Regions from separate parts of the Homo sapiens genome. Here region 1 is linked to region 2. Evidence: promoter capture Hi-C in 16 types of primary human blood cells and fetal thymus (Javierre and others, 2016). All regions are on one chromosome and are shown on one strand. The core of a region is centred on a gene start or on the middle of the fragment in contact, and the rest is flanking DNA. Distances in the headings are between cores, read along the strand shown. Region 1 holds the start of SGTB (small glutamine rich tetratricopeptide repeat co-chaperone beta). Region 2 holds the start of CHD1 (chromodomain helicase DNA binding protein 1).

What was found. Contacts are between HindIII fragments. The CHiCAGO score rates a contact against its expected background, and 5 or more counts as called.
Region 1: a fragment that was not itself captured here is called in contact with the fragment with the promoter of CHD1 in region 2 in 1 of 17 cell types (non-activated CD4 T cells); the score reaches 5.2 in non-activated CD4 T cells.

The regions. Positions count from the first base shown.
Region 1 is chr5:65,717,868-65,723,782 of GRCh38, forward strand. SGTB (small glutamine rich tetratricopeptide repeat co-chaperone beta) reads right to left here and starts at 4,242. Exons shown (of 11, transcript NM_019072.3): 1 at 4,050-4,242; 2 at 2,841-2,962. The coding sequence starts at 2,940. NLN (neurolysin) reads left to right here and starts at 4,338. Exons shown (of 13, transcript NM_020726.5): 1 at 4,338-4,547. The coding sequence starts at 4,507. RefSeq lists silencers at 1,572-1,768, 3,813-3,862, 3,923-3,972, 4,043-4,652 and enhancers at 4,929-5,750, 5,523-5,602. The HindIII fragment of the contact is 291 bases long and covers 2,947-3,237 here.
Region 2 is chr5:98,927,277-98,933,102 of GRCh38, forward strand. CHD1 (chromodomain helicase DNA binding protein 1) reads right to left here and starts at 1,731. Exons shown (of 36, transcript NM_001270.4): 1 at 1,263-1,731. CHD1-DT (CHD1 divergent transcript) reads left to right here and starts at 1,286. Exons shown (of 4, transcript NR_151718.1): 1 at 1,286-1,366. LOC100289230 (a long non-coding RNA gene) reads left to right here and starts at 1,858. Exons shown (of 1, transcript NR_036530.1): 1 at 1,858-3,733. RefSeq lists silencers at 875-1,504, 1,765-1,974 and enhancers at 1,748-2,646, 2,135-2,464. The HindIII fragment of the contact is 7,543 bases long and covers 1-3,405 here.

The sequences.
Region 1 (5,915 bases), core at 1,842-4,341, about 33 Mb before region 2:
TGGGCACAAAGTAGGTGGAGAGTTGGATTTAAACAAAGTTGGGCTTTGCAAGAAAGGGAAGGAGATACAAGGGAATAATTATAATTATCAACCATGGAATTTAAGATGAGTAAGAAGAGGTGTGGGGAAAGGTGAGGCATGAACAGATTGGAGGTACTGGTTGGGTCAAAGAATAGCTGGAGTAGGGATTCTAGAGGGAGTAATCTTGGAAAGACAGGCAATAGTGGTCAGGAAGTGAAATGTTTGGGATAGAGATTAGGGAAGGAATGCAATTCTGGTAATGATTAAGTCTAGGGAAGGCTTTCTCAATCTCCGCATACTGACATTTTGGATCAGGTAATTTCTTCTTGTCAGGGGCTGTCCTGTGCATTAGCAGCATCCATGGCCTCTACCTACTCACTAGATGCCAATAATACCAGCCACCCGCCTCACCCAGTTGTGACAATCAGAATGTATCCAGATATTGCAAAATCACCCCCAAGTTGAGAACCACTGATCTAGAATATGATCAAGTGTTTGAGATCACTGGATGAGGTCAATAACTGAGAGCCAGGGAACTAAAATAATCATCAATCAGTATATTGCAATTGCCAAGAACTAAATAGGAGTAGTGCTAGAGAGAGTGACAGTGAGCAGGAACCACAATTAGTCAAGGAATGAAGCAAATGTCAGTAGATGACAATAATTAAGAGGAGTGGGTGACATAATCTGATGGCAAGACAAAGCTGATGATATACCAGCTTCACAGTAGTGGTAAAGCTGGTATTAGAACTGAGGCTTCTTTCCTAGGGCTTTTAAAAATGTCTAGAAGGTGGGCAGACACCTCCACATGATTTCATGTTCAATTAAATTAGACTCACAGAGTCAAAAATAGGGGTCAGTCAAAAACAATTGGCACCCTTTCTGACTGCCATATATAACAAACAGCTGAAGGCACATATTTTTGGCTGAATACCATCCTAAAAATAGGACATAACATCTTGGTTTGAAAAAAAAACCCTCAATTTTCTTTCTGGCCCTTAAAACTTTTATGCTGCTTTTGATTAGAAAAGAAACATCTTTTCTTAAATGACTGCATTTATCTGTTTGCTACAGAGCAATCATAACTAACATTCTCCTTAGATAACCAATCAACTTTATTTTCACATAGTCTAATCATCAAGGAGAACAAAAAGACCTTAATATTAAATGGACTGATTGCAATGTTCTCCAACTGTGCATCACCTGCTCCTCTCACTGCCACCTGGAAAGACATCAACTAACCAGACTGCAAGGAGGTTTAGAGCAAATGCCCAATTTTCATCTCCACCTCCTAAAAGCATATTCACAGGGAAATGCTTGTTGAAATTATAGAAGCAGTTTCAAGATGGGATTTATAACTATACTGTCATTTATTAAGTTCTTCCAAATGCACTCTCACTGCAATAATTAAGACTTTGGGGCTGGGAGGGGTGGCTCATGCCTGTAATCTCAGTACTTTGGGAGGCCAAGGCGAGTGGATCACTTGAGCCCAGGAGTTTGAGAACAGCCTGGGCAACATGGCGAAACTCTGTCTCTACAAAAAAAAATACAAAACTTAGCCGGGTGTGGTAGTGTACTCCTGTAGTCCCAGCTACTCAGGAGGCCGAGGTGGGAGGATCAATTGAGCCCAGGAGGTGGAGGTTGCAGTGAGCCGAGATTGTGCCACTACACTCCAGCCTGGGTGACAGAGCCAGACAGACCCTGTCTCAAAAAATAAATAAATAAATAAAAGACTTTAGGCCACAGGGACACCAGATTCACTGAACCTCCACAAGCCCATCTGCAGAATTCTACCTTGTTATGGTTGTACTGAATTTAAATTTTATAACACATAAACATGAAGAACAAAGACGGTGTCGAGGAAACACATGATGCTATCACCCACATCCTGTTCAACTTTACAGATTACCGAATCCAATATTAAAGTTAACGTAAAACACAGGTGAAATGCTCCCATTTCAAGTTCCAAATTAGGCACTGGTCAGATCTCACTAGTGGTATAATTATTAGACTTTTACATAGTGCTATTAAAATGACTCAGGTATTTTTATATATTATTTCTAAACTGGATGCTTTCCTATTAGGAAATGGAGACAACAAGATCTTCAGAGTATTAACCAGGATTTAAATCTCAGCTTTATCACATATCAGCTGTGTTATCTGCTTACGCTATTTGGTTTCATTTTCTTTTTCTTTTTTTTTTTTTTTTTTTGAGATAGGGTCTCGCTCATGGCCCAGGCTGGAGTGCAGTGGTGTGATCTCAGCTCACTGCAACCTCCACCTCCTGGGTTTAAGCCACCCTCCTATCTCAGCCTCCTGAGTAGCTGGGACTACAGGCAAGTGCCACCACACCTGGCTACTTTTTGTATTTTTAGTAGAGACAGGGTTTTGCCATGTTGCCCAGCCTGGTCTTGAACTCCTGACCTCAAATGACCTACCTGCCTCGGCCTCCCAAAGTGCTGGGATTACAGGCATGAGCCACCAAGCCTGGCCCTGGTTTTATTTTCTCACTTGTTAAATGGGGATAATACTAACATAACAGTTGCTGTGAAGAAAAAATTGCCTATAATATGAACAGCATACTTCTGACATATAGTATTTGTTCAATAAATGAACAATAGTCCTCTTAATTTGTTGTTAAAACAAACAAAACAAGCTTCAGAAAATGGAAATACGATAACCTTATAGTCAGGCCTCTCCTCTTGAAAGATCAAAAAAAATTCTGATTATGTTACAATAGATCATCAAGTTGGGCTTACAGCTATTTTAGTCTTCGTTTATAATTATAATATAAATGAACACAAAGAGCAGATGCATACCTTCCAAACTTTCTTGTTCATCCGAGGTGTAAGTGTCCATCTGACTTTGTTCCCGTAAGAAACGAATAACTGCATAAACCAGGTGCTTGATAGATGACATTTTAGAAGCTTAAACACTTTTCCTTGATAAGAAAAATGAAAACACTGAACTAAGTTATTTTAAAGAATCAGTCAGGAAAGTCATAAATTACAAAGATGATATGGGTTATAAAGTGTATTAAAGGTAAAAACAAAACACAAAACTGTATGACCTTTCATCTTTTCTCTTTGTAAAGAGTCAGGAGAGCACAAAGTATTGTGAAGGTAATTTATTACATATTTTCATTAATACCCAGTGGTATACGAGTATGTTAAATCTTGGAATAAGTAAAAATGTCTTCAAAACATGTACAGCATAAGCTTAGACTGTCACTGCATATCTCACCATACAGAAATCCCCTAAAGGCCTCAGTACTAAGTTAAGAGGCATTTCATACTGCTGACTAAAAGCTGATGTATACCAAGCATCTTCCTCTTTTTCATGGGATCTAAAAAAAGTATTAATAATGTACACTCTACCCACTTTTGTAGGTTGAGAGTTATTTGATGAGGAAACACATTCGCGAAAGGTTATTCAAGTGGTGAGTGTCGTTCTTAATAAAAATGGCATTTCTATTTAATCAGCAGACATGTCAGGAAATCGCTGCCCAAGTCGATGGATACTACAAGCCGACCGGCGCTCCCTGCAGAGGCTGTGCTCTCGTGGACAAGCTGGAAGCTCCCGGTCATGTTCATTCACATGGAATACTATCGCATCCAAACAGTGGCGCAGGGCCAGGCGGCATTCATGGCTGATTTCCACCAAATCGCATCATCCATCTGCTCCCCAGGTTCCCTAATTCAAAGCCAGGGTGTGGTACCCGCCGCTATAATGTTTATTATTTGTGTAGTTATTTTAAAGGCGATGTCAGCCTCTAGGCCACGGGGTCATAAGCACTAAATAAGGCCCCAGGGCAGAAGGTAAAAACAGAATGGGGGGAAAAGGGGTGAGAAGAGGGAAATAGGCTTCTCCCCCTTCCTCTCCCCAGAGCGCATCGAGCTCCCCCTCCCTTCCGTCCTCCCTCAGGTACCCGGCCTCGCCTCGGCCCTGCCCGGTGTGCAGCGGGTGCCGGTGCGGGCCCCGGTCCGGAGCGGCGGGAGGCGCACCCTTGCCAGACAGAAGCCCCTTACCAAGCAGGAGGACGCGAGACGACTGCTGCTGGCCCGCGGGGTTCCGTAGGCAGGCCCGCCCGACCCCTGGTCCTCGGGGCTGGAGCCCGGCTCGGGATCGCAGCACTGGTCGCGGCGGCGCAAACTTCCCCGGCCCCTAGGCCGTAGACCCCAGAACCCACCAGGCTGTGCTCTCTCTCAGGCGGCAGGGTCTGGCCAGCACCGCCCCTGGGGCGGGGCCGGACGCGAGGGCTGGGGCGGGGCCAGACACGCGAGCTGGGGCGGGGCACGGCGCGGGGCGGGGCTGGTAGGCGCCGGCGTGGAGCTGCCGCACGTGGGAGGGCGCTGGCCAGGCAGCCACTGTGGCCTCTGCGGCTAGGCCGGCTCGAGACTCCCGGGCGCCCAGGCGCTGCCGCCCGCCTCGCCGCCCCACGCCGAAGGACCACGCGCCCGCCGCCGCCAGCCTCTCAGCGCTCCCATGATCGCCCGGTGCCTTTTGGCTGTGCGAAGCCTCCGCAGGTACCTCCAGCGCGCGGGTTAACCTTGGCCGTGGGCAGGGCGGGGTCTTTCGCCGTGTGGTGCCTGGAGCCCGGACCCACCCCTTCCCGACCGCGCCTCTCCGACGCTCCCGGGACGCACCCTCCCCGCGGCTTGCAAGGTGGACCCCTGGGGGACACCTGGCGCGGCCACCTGGGGCCACCTTTCCCGCCTCCGCTCCCTCGGGAGGACGTCCATTCCTCTTTGTTTGGGACTGCCTCAGCCGCAGTCAGCGAGGCTGGTCACAGACGCGGCCCAAAATGAATGCAAATAGTTTGGATAAGAAAATCATTTCACGTTCAATCCCAATGCAGAACTACAGACCTGTCATTAAAAGTGCCGCAGCTGTGGACTCAGAACAATTGTGTTTGCTCCTCGCGCCCATTATTAGCATTCCAATCGTTTAACATCCACCCGAGATGAAACCTCTTTGGTGGTGTTGCTTGTTTCCGTCCATGCTCTCTGACTTCCTTTTTTATTTTCCTCCTCCCCATAAAACAAACATTCTGCCTCTTGCCGGTGCAAATTGACTTGGCCCAAAATGGAGAAAATGATCGCTTGGACACGGCTTTGGGCAGCCTGAGCTGCTGTTTTGGATTGCTTCCTAGCCCTCTAACCACACCCCACTGCAACAGACCAGTAGCAAGATGGTGAGGGAATTAAATTCTTTGCACGGATGCGCTGGTTTTCGGAAACAATGCCGCCACCATCCCCGTTTCCAAATCTGCCCAGAACTGTAAATCCAAATGAAGATTCAACAGAATAAAGAAAATGTGTGCTTCTTGCTAGCTATCAACAAAACTACTTTGTAACATGTCAGCATTTAAGCTTTCTACAGTTCCCTTTTGCACATTGCCACTCGTCTGTGTGGATGGAGCTTTGTGTTGCTCAGTCCGTAGAGTTAGGGAGCAGGCAGGCGACAGTGGTTAATTACAAAGAGTTAATGTGGTGATTGGTGACCATATTTCAGCCTGTCGTTTTTTGCTAGTCTCCAGGCTGCAATCGATATAGCTGTCAAATGAAGTTATACCAAGAAATGAAGACTTCACATAATGCAGGGGTGAGAGGAGGGAATAAATCTTCATATAAGAGCAATTCTCGGCCGGGCGCTGTGGCTCATGCCTGTAATCCCAGCACTTTGGGAGGCCGAGGCGGGTGGATCACGAGGTCAGGAGATCGAGACCATCCTGGCTAACACGGTGAAACCCCGTCTCTACTAAAAAATACAAAAAATTAGCCGGGCGTGGTGGCGGGCGCCTGTAGTCCCAGCTACTCGGGAGGCTGAGGCAGGAGAATGGCATGAACCCGGGAGGCGAAGCTTGCAGTGAGCCGAGATCGCACCACTGTACT
Region 2 (5,826 bases), core at 481-2,980:
ACAACACTGAAGAATCACCTACAAGCCATCCACGAATAAACAAAGGAGATCTCTGGCAGGGGAGGGAGAGGAAGAAGCGGGGGAAGGAGACGTCAGATCCTTCCCCAGCCAGAAAGTACCGAGACAGCCAACTGAGAGCAGAGCTGTCCTCCGACCTCAGCAAAGAGAATTCACTCCTACGATTATTTCCATTCCACAAGAGAGGGAGGGAAACAGATTGTTACCAACTCAATGATAGCAAAGTCTGCATCTGGATCAGGATGTTAATTCTCTAGACTACTGTCCAGTAGACTCTGCAAGAACAGGTTATCTAAAAAGTAACCGTTCTACTCAACATTTATTCCTAATGTTAAATATTAATCTCAACCCTAGTCAAAGTGCCTTACTGAACAATTAAGTCTTAAAAAATCTAAGTATGTTAACAAACTGCCTTTCCCGTTTCTTCCTTTAAAAAGTTCACTCCCCTTTTCGTTCTTTCCTTTTCACCTTCCTTTCGTCCCTCAAAATGGCTTTCTCTGTACATTTTAACTTCCTTTCCCCTCCATCTCCCTTATCCGAATAAGTCCTCTGAGACCCTTTTCACAACCCTGAGTTCTGAAGCTCCAAGCGCACACAGCGCTGTGTCCTCTCAAGCGTCTCCACAATGACTACCCTAAGTTATTAAACCTCTTCAATCCTCTGTCTTTTAGCAGTTGCTTTGCTCCTGCTAAGTTTTTAAAGCGGCACTCGAAAGAGGTTTGGAAACCATCCTCACTCATCCATCCAGCGCGCTCCAATCAGCCTCCCTCGCGGACCTGCCCCCCTCTCCCAGGGCCTCCATCCCGGTCCAGGAGTCCCTCTTCCCGCCTCAAACTTCCCGCAGACCCGCCCCGCGCCCTCCCAGGCTCGCCCGAGCCGCCGCCCCCTCCCCCTCCCGCCGCTCCCCACGTGCTGGGAGCCCGGGTCGCGGCAGGACCCACGCACCGGCTAAGTGCTAGCCATTCGCGGGTCTCCTCTCGCGGCCCGGTCGGCACCAAGCCGAAGAGGCCGGGGCAGGGCCGCCGGGCCGGCGCAAGGATGCGTTCTGCGGCCCCGGCCTGTACTCGCCGCTCACACGCCCCCTGCGCGCCAGGCCCGTACACCGCCACCGGCACTCACAGAGCCACCCGGCCTTCACCCGGCCGCTGGGCCGCCGCCTGGGCACCGCGCCGCGCCCGCCCTCCGCCCGGCCGGTTCCTGTCCTCTCCGCCACATCCTGACCCGCCCGCCGCCCCCTTTCTTACCGGCGGGCTTGGCGGGGCGGAGGGAGCCGACTCGGGTGGACGGCCTCCCCCGCGCCCAGGCCCGGGATCTCCGCCGCCCAGTCCTAGGGCTCCGGCGTCTCGGGGTAAGCAAGAGTCCGTGCGGGGGAGGGGGAAGGGGACAGACGCGGAGGGGAAGGGGAAGCCCCGGTCCGCAGCACCAACGCGCGATCCCCTGCGGAGTGGAGCTAACAATTCATTATTGAAGCACCAAGGGCGAGGGCAGCAAGAGCTATAAGTAACCAGTCGTCGCCGCCGCCGCCGCCGCCGTCGCGCGCGCGCTCCCGCTCCCTCCGCTTATCTGCCCCCGGCAGCCGCCATGACGCCGAGAAAGCAAGCGAGCGCAACCGTCTCCGTCGTAGCCGCCGCCGCCACCGAGGTCGCCGTCGCCTCCGCCTCCCGCGCGACGTAAGCGCCTCTGCTCACTCCCCTTCCCGACAGAGCGCGAGGCGGGCGGGCGCGCGCACGCCGAAGCCTTTCTGCTCGCGCGCGGGAGGCGGGAGGGACTACGTTGAAGGGTCGTGGGCGTAGGAAAAAAGCGATTGGTGCTGGGGCGGGGCGGGGGGGGCGAGTGCGCGCACGCGCACGAATGGGAGTGCGCACGGCGGATGCGCAGAGGCTGTCGGACTCTGACTGCGCGGAGACCGCTGGACTCTGGTCGCGGCCTTAGTCCGCTGATCCTCGCTTGGGTGCCCGCCCTTAGCGGCCCGGCGTTGAATTCCGGGAAGTGGGAGCTTCAGGCTCGCTCCGTGCGGGTATGGGCGCTAATGTCACTTGGGATGGTTGCGCAAGGACATCGCGGCGGACACTGACAAGGAACCGGGGAGGAACGGGGGTGGGGAGAGACTGCGATGGGACTCGGGAAGCCGGGAAGGGCCGCGCTGAATAAGCCTAAGGGGCCGGGTCGCAAGGAGTGTCGGGTAGCACAGGCCTCGGCTCAGTCGGAGCGCCAGGCCTCAGGGTCCGGGCGGGGGCTGCTGCGTCACACCAGGCAGCCTGGGAACGCAACTGTTGGGCAACCGTGGTGGCCTCTCGCCACCTCTTACGCTTGGGCGATCTGCGATTGACGCATCCTGGGAGCTGATGTCCCGCACGGGCGGGGCGCCGGAGGAGGAGAGAAAATAGAGACCCGGTTGTTGACAGCCTGTGATGCCGCTTGATTCATGTGTGGGTGGCCTGGTTTAGAAATGTACCACCCTTCCTTTCTAGGTTCCTCCCCGGAGGGCGGGGTGACGGGTGCGGCGCCGAATCGCAACAAAAAACGCTGCTCGAGGGATGTTAGTAACTGTCTCAGCTTAAGTTGCTGCCTTTTAGCTTACAGTTTGTATCGTAACTGTAATTGTGGATCTTAGTTAAATCCCTTCAGTGTGTTGGAAACATATTTTTAAGTGTATTTTTGAAACATACTTAGAGCATTTTGAAATGCTTTTTTGAAAGCGTTTTTTAAATCAAAATTCTGTTACACTTTATTTTTTTCAGTCTGCAGATGAACTTGACTCACTCAAGGTTAATGATTTTTGTTTTTTATTTATGTTTGTAGAGGCGGGGTTTTGTCATGTTGCTAGGTTGGTGTTGAACTCCTGAGCTCGAGCGATCCACCTGCCACTGCCTTCCAAAGTGCTGGAATTACAGGCGTGAGCCACGGCGCCCGGTGGCCGAGGTTAATAATAATTAAAAGTTTCTAATCCCATTGTTCAGTTATTTGATTTGGTGTAAAGGCGCACTTTCCAAGTCAGATGAGTTTGTGGTAACATACATTCCCCAAATAATTATTTTTCCCTTGTGGGAAATATTCCAGTTTTAGGCTACCAGCTGTTTAAACAGTTTGGTTCAAATCCTTCAAAAAAATCTCAAAACATAACTCCACATATGTATTTACTACATATTGAAGGGTGTATTCACTTGGAGAAGTAGGAGAAAGCAAACAGATGCCAATGGCCTTTTTGAAAACATGTATCTATCAGCAATAATTGAATAGCAAAACGAAGTGGAACACTACCATCCTTTGCAATATTAGATAGTTTTAATACTGGGTTGTGAGGAATGAAAAGATCATACAAATCGTCATTTCTGAAGTCATTTCTGAAGTCGTCATTTCTGAACTGAGTGCTAATTTTTCATATTAAGCTTTATGTTAATATCCTTAATGAGAGGAACTTCCTGTGCCCGTAATTTCTCCAGAGAAACTATTAACATACACAGAATGTTGTAATCAGAAGTATAGTTCAGTTAATAAAGTCCTCAATTACAACTCTGACATTTTGTCATTGTCTTATGAAAAGAATTACTGTATATACAGTCTATTTTACGTTTTCCGGAAGCACGTCAGGCAGGTTTTTTGTTTTTTTACTACTAATTGTGCCATTGAATATGCTATTCTGTCGTATTGTGCCATCAAACATGCTATTCGAAAAAAGATCTTGCCCAATTTGTAATAAAATATTGAACATTGGAGATTTAGATTTCGAGTAAAATCATACTTTATTGCTTTGCAGAAGTACACAGTAGGTGGAAAATTGCAACAATCTTGCCAGTTCATTTTTTAAAAAGCGTGTAGGTAATCCAAAGATACCTTTTTGATGATTTGTTATCAACATAGTTAAATTTGCAGTGTCACTTTATTTGAATAAACTAGCTTTATCTCTACTTAGTGGTACTAAAACAATAGCCAAACAGTTGATAATCTCAACACATGACTAACGAAAAATTCCACATAATTAACATTAACCAGGAGGTTTTTGTTACTATTTAATTTCTCATTTTTAAAATTTCATATTCTTTGGAAAGAATATTACTTTTCCGGAATCTAAGACAGCATTTTGTGGGTCCTTAATTGTGATATGCTTTACTAGGTAAAGTACTAAATGGGTATCCTTAGGTGGGGATAGGCTGGGAACCACATATCCAGAATTGTGAAATATATAACATAAACAGGATAACTTGCTCCTTTGTTAGCTTTTTGGATGCCAGGGTTAAGATTTTAATTCCATAATTATGTCCTTGTTGCCTGGAGGATTTGCATATGAGAAACCACAAAAACAATCGGGACATTATTAAAATACCCTAGAATCTCAACCTGTGACAGTATTTCCCATGTCCTTGCAAAACCAGAGGAAGTCTTTCCAATATGATTCTTAAATTTACAAAGTCCTCTGAATAGAAACCATGAAATCCTAAGTCATCTTCTAGTGAAGATTTGCTGTACATTTTCTGTTTTCCTAATAAGAAATTAGAGGAGTTTAGTTCCCAGTGTTGGGCAAGGGATAGGACTCAGTCACCTGGAAAGTTCTTTTGTAACTACACGTGCCTGACACTCCTATTCTTCCCCTCTGCTGATATGCAGAATTTCTAGGTTCTAGGTAGTATTTGGGAAGTTTCCCAGATTATTCTGATATCTACCAGCGGCTCATCCACCTTCTTTATGGTCACTGTATTTGGGGATTTTGAATGATAAATTCTTGAATCACTAAAAGCTAAATTTCAAACAGAAAATTGTTAGAGATGATACTAAGAGGCAAGTATGTATAAAATCTAATAGGCATTGAAGAAGATACAAAGATTCCATCCTCTACTGAAAAATTAAGTGTGCACGCAGAGTAAGAAAGAAGGTTAAGTAGCCAACCTCAAAAATATTTAAAAATTATTGCATTGATGCTGTATCACTCATTTCCTTGCCCAGATTCTTTTTTTTTTTTTTTTTTTTTGAGACAGAGTCTCACTTTGTCACCCAGGCTGGAGTGCAGTGGTGCTATCTCATTTCACTGCAATCTCCGCTTTCTGGGTTCAAGTGATTCTCATGCCTCAGCCTTCCAAGTAGCTGGGACTACAGGCACGCGCCACCACACCCAGCTAATTTTGTGTACTTTTAGTAGAGACTGGGTTTCACCATGTTGGCAAGGCTGGTGTCAAACTCCTGACCTCAGGTGATCTGCCTGCTTCAGCCTCCCAAAGTGCTGGGATTACAGGTGTGAGCCACCATGCCCAGCCCTTGCCCAGATTCTTTATTCACTGCTGTCCAAATACTGTTGGTCCTCTGTACCTGCAGGGATTTGCAGGTACAGAGGCTCAACTATAAGGGACTTGAGCATCCCCAGGTTTTGGTAAATGGGGGTCCTGGAACTAATTCTCTGCAGATACTGAGGGACAAACGGTACCACTCATTTTAATGCAGAAATTTTGTATTCATCCTTTCTTTTTAACTCCCACTACCGGGCTTAGTTTAGGCCTCTATTTTCTCTATCTTTCCCTTCAGCTTATCCTTTAGGTTTCCTTCAAACTTGAAATCTAACTAAATCAGTCCCCTGTTATATACCACATATATTTGTAAACTAAACATATATGAAGATGTATGTACATATCATATATTCCTAGTATTTTAGTTACTTAATTTTTTCACAGACTAATCTCAGTATTGCCTCTCATCATTCCTAATGGACACTTGGTACTCTAGACACTTCTTCAGGTCACTGGAAAGGTATCTCTCATTGTAAGTGGATATAACCCATTTATCTTATGGGTCAGTCTTTCATAAGTTCGTTTAAGTAAA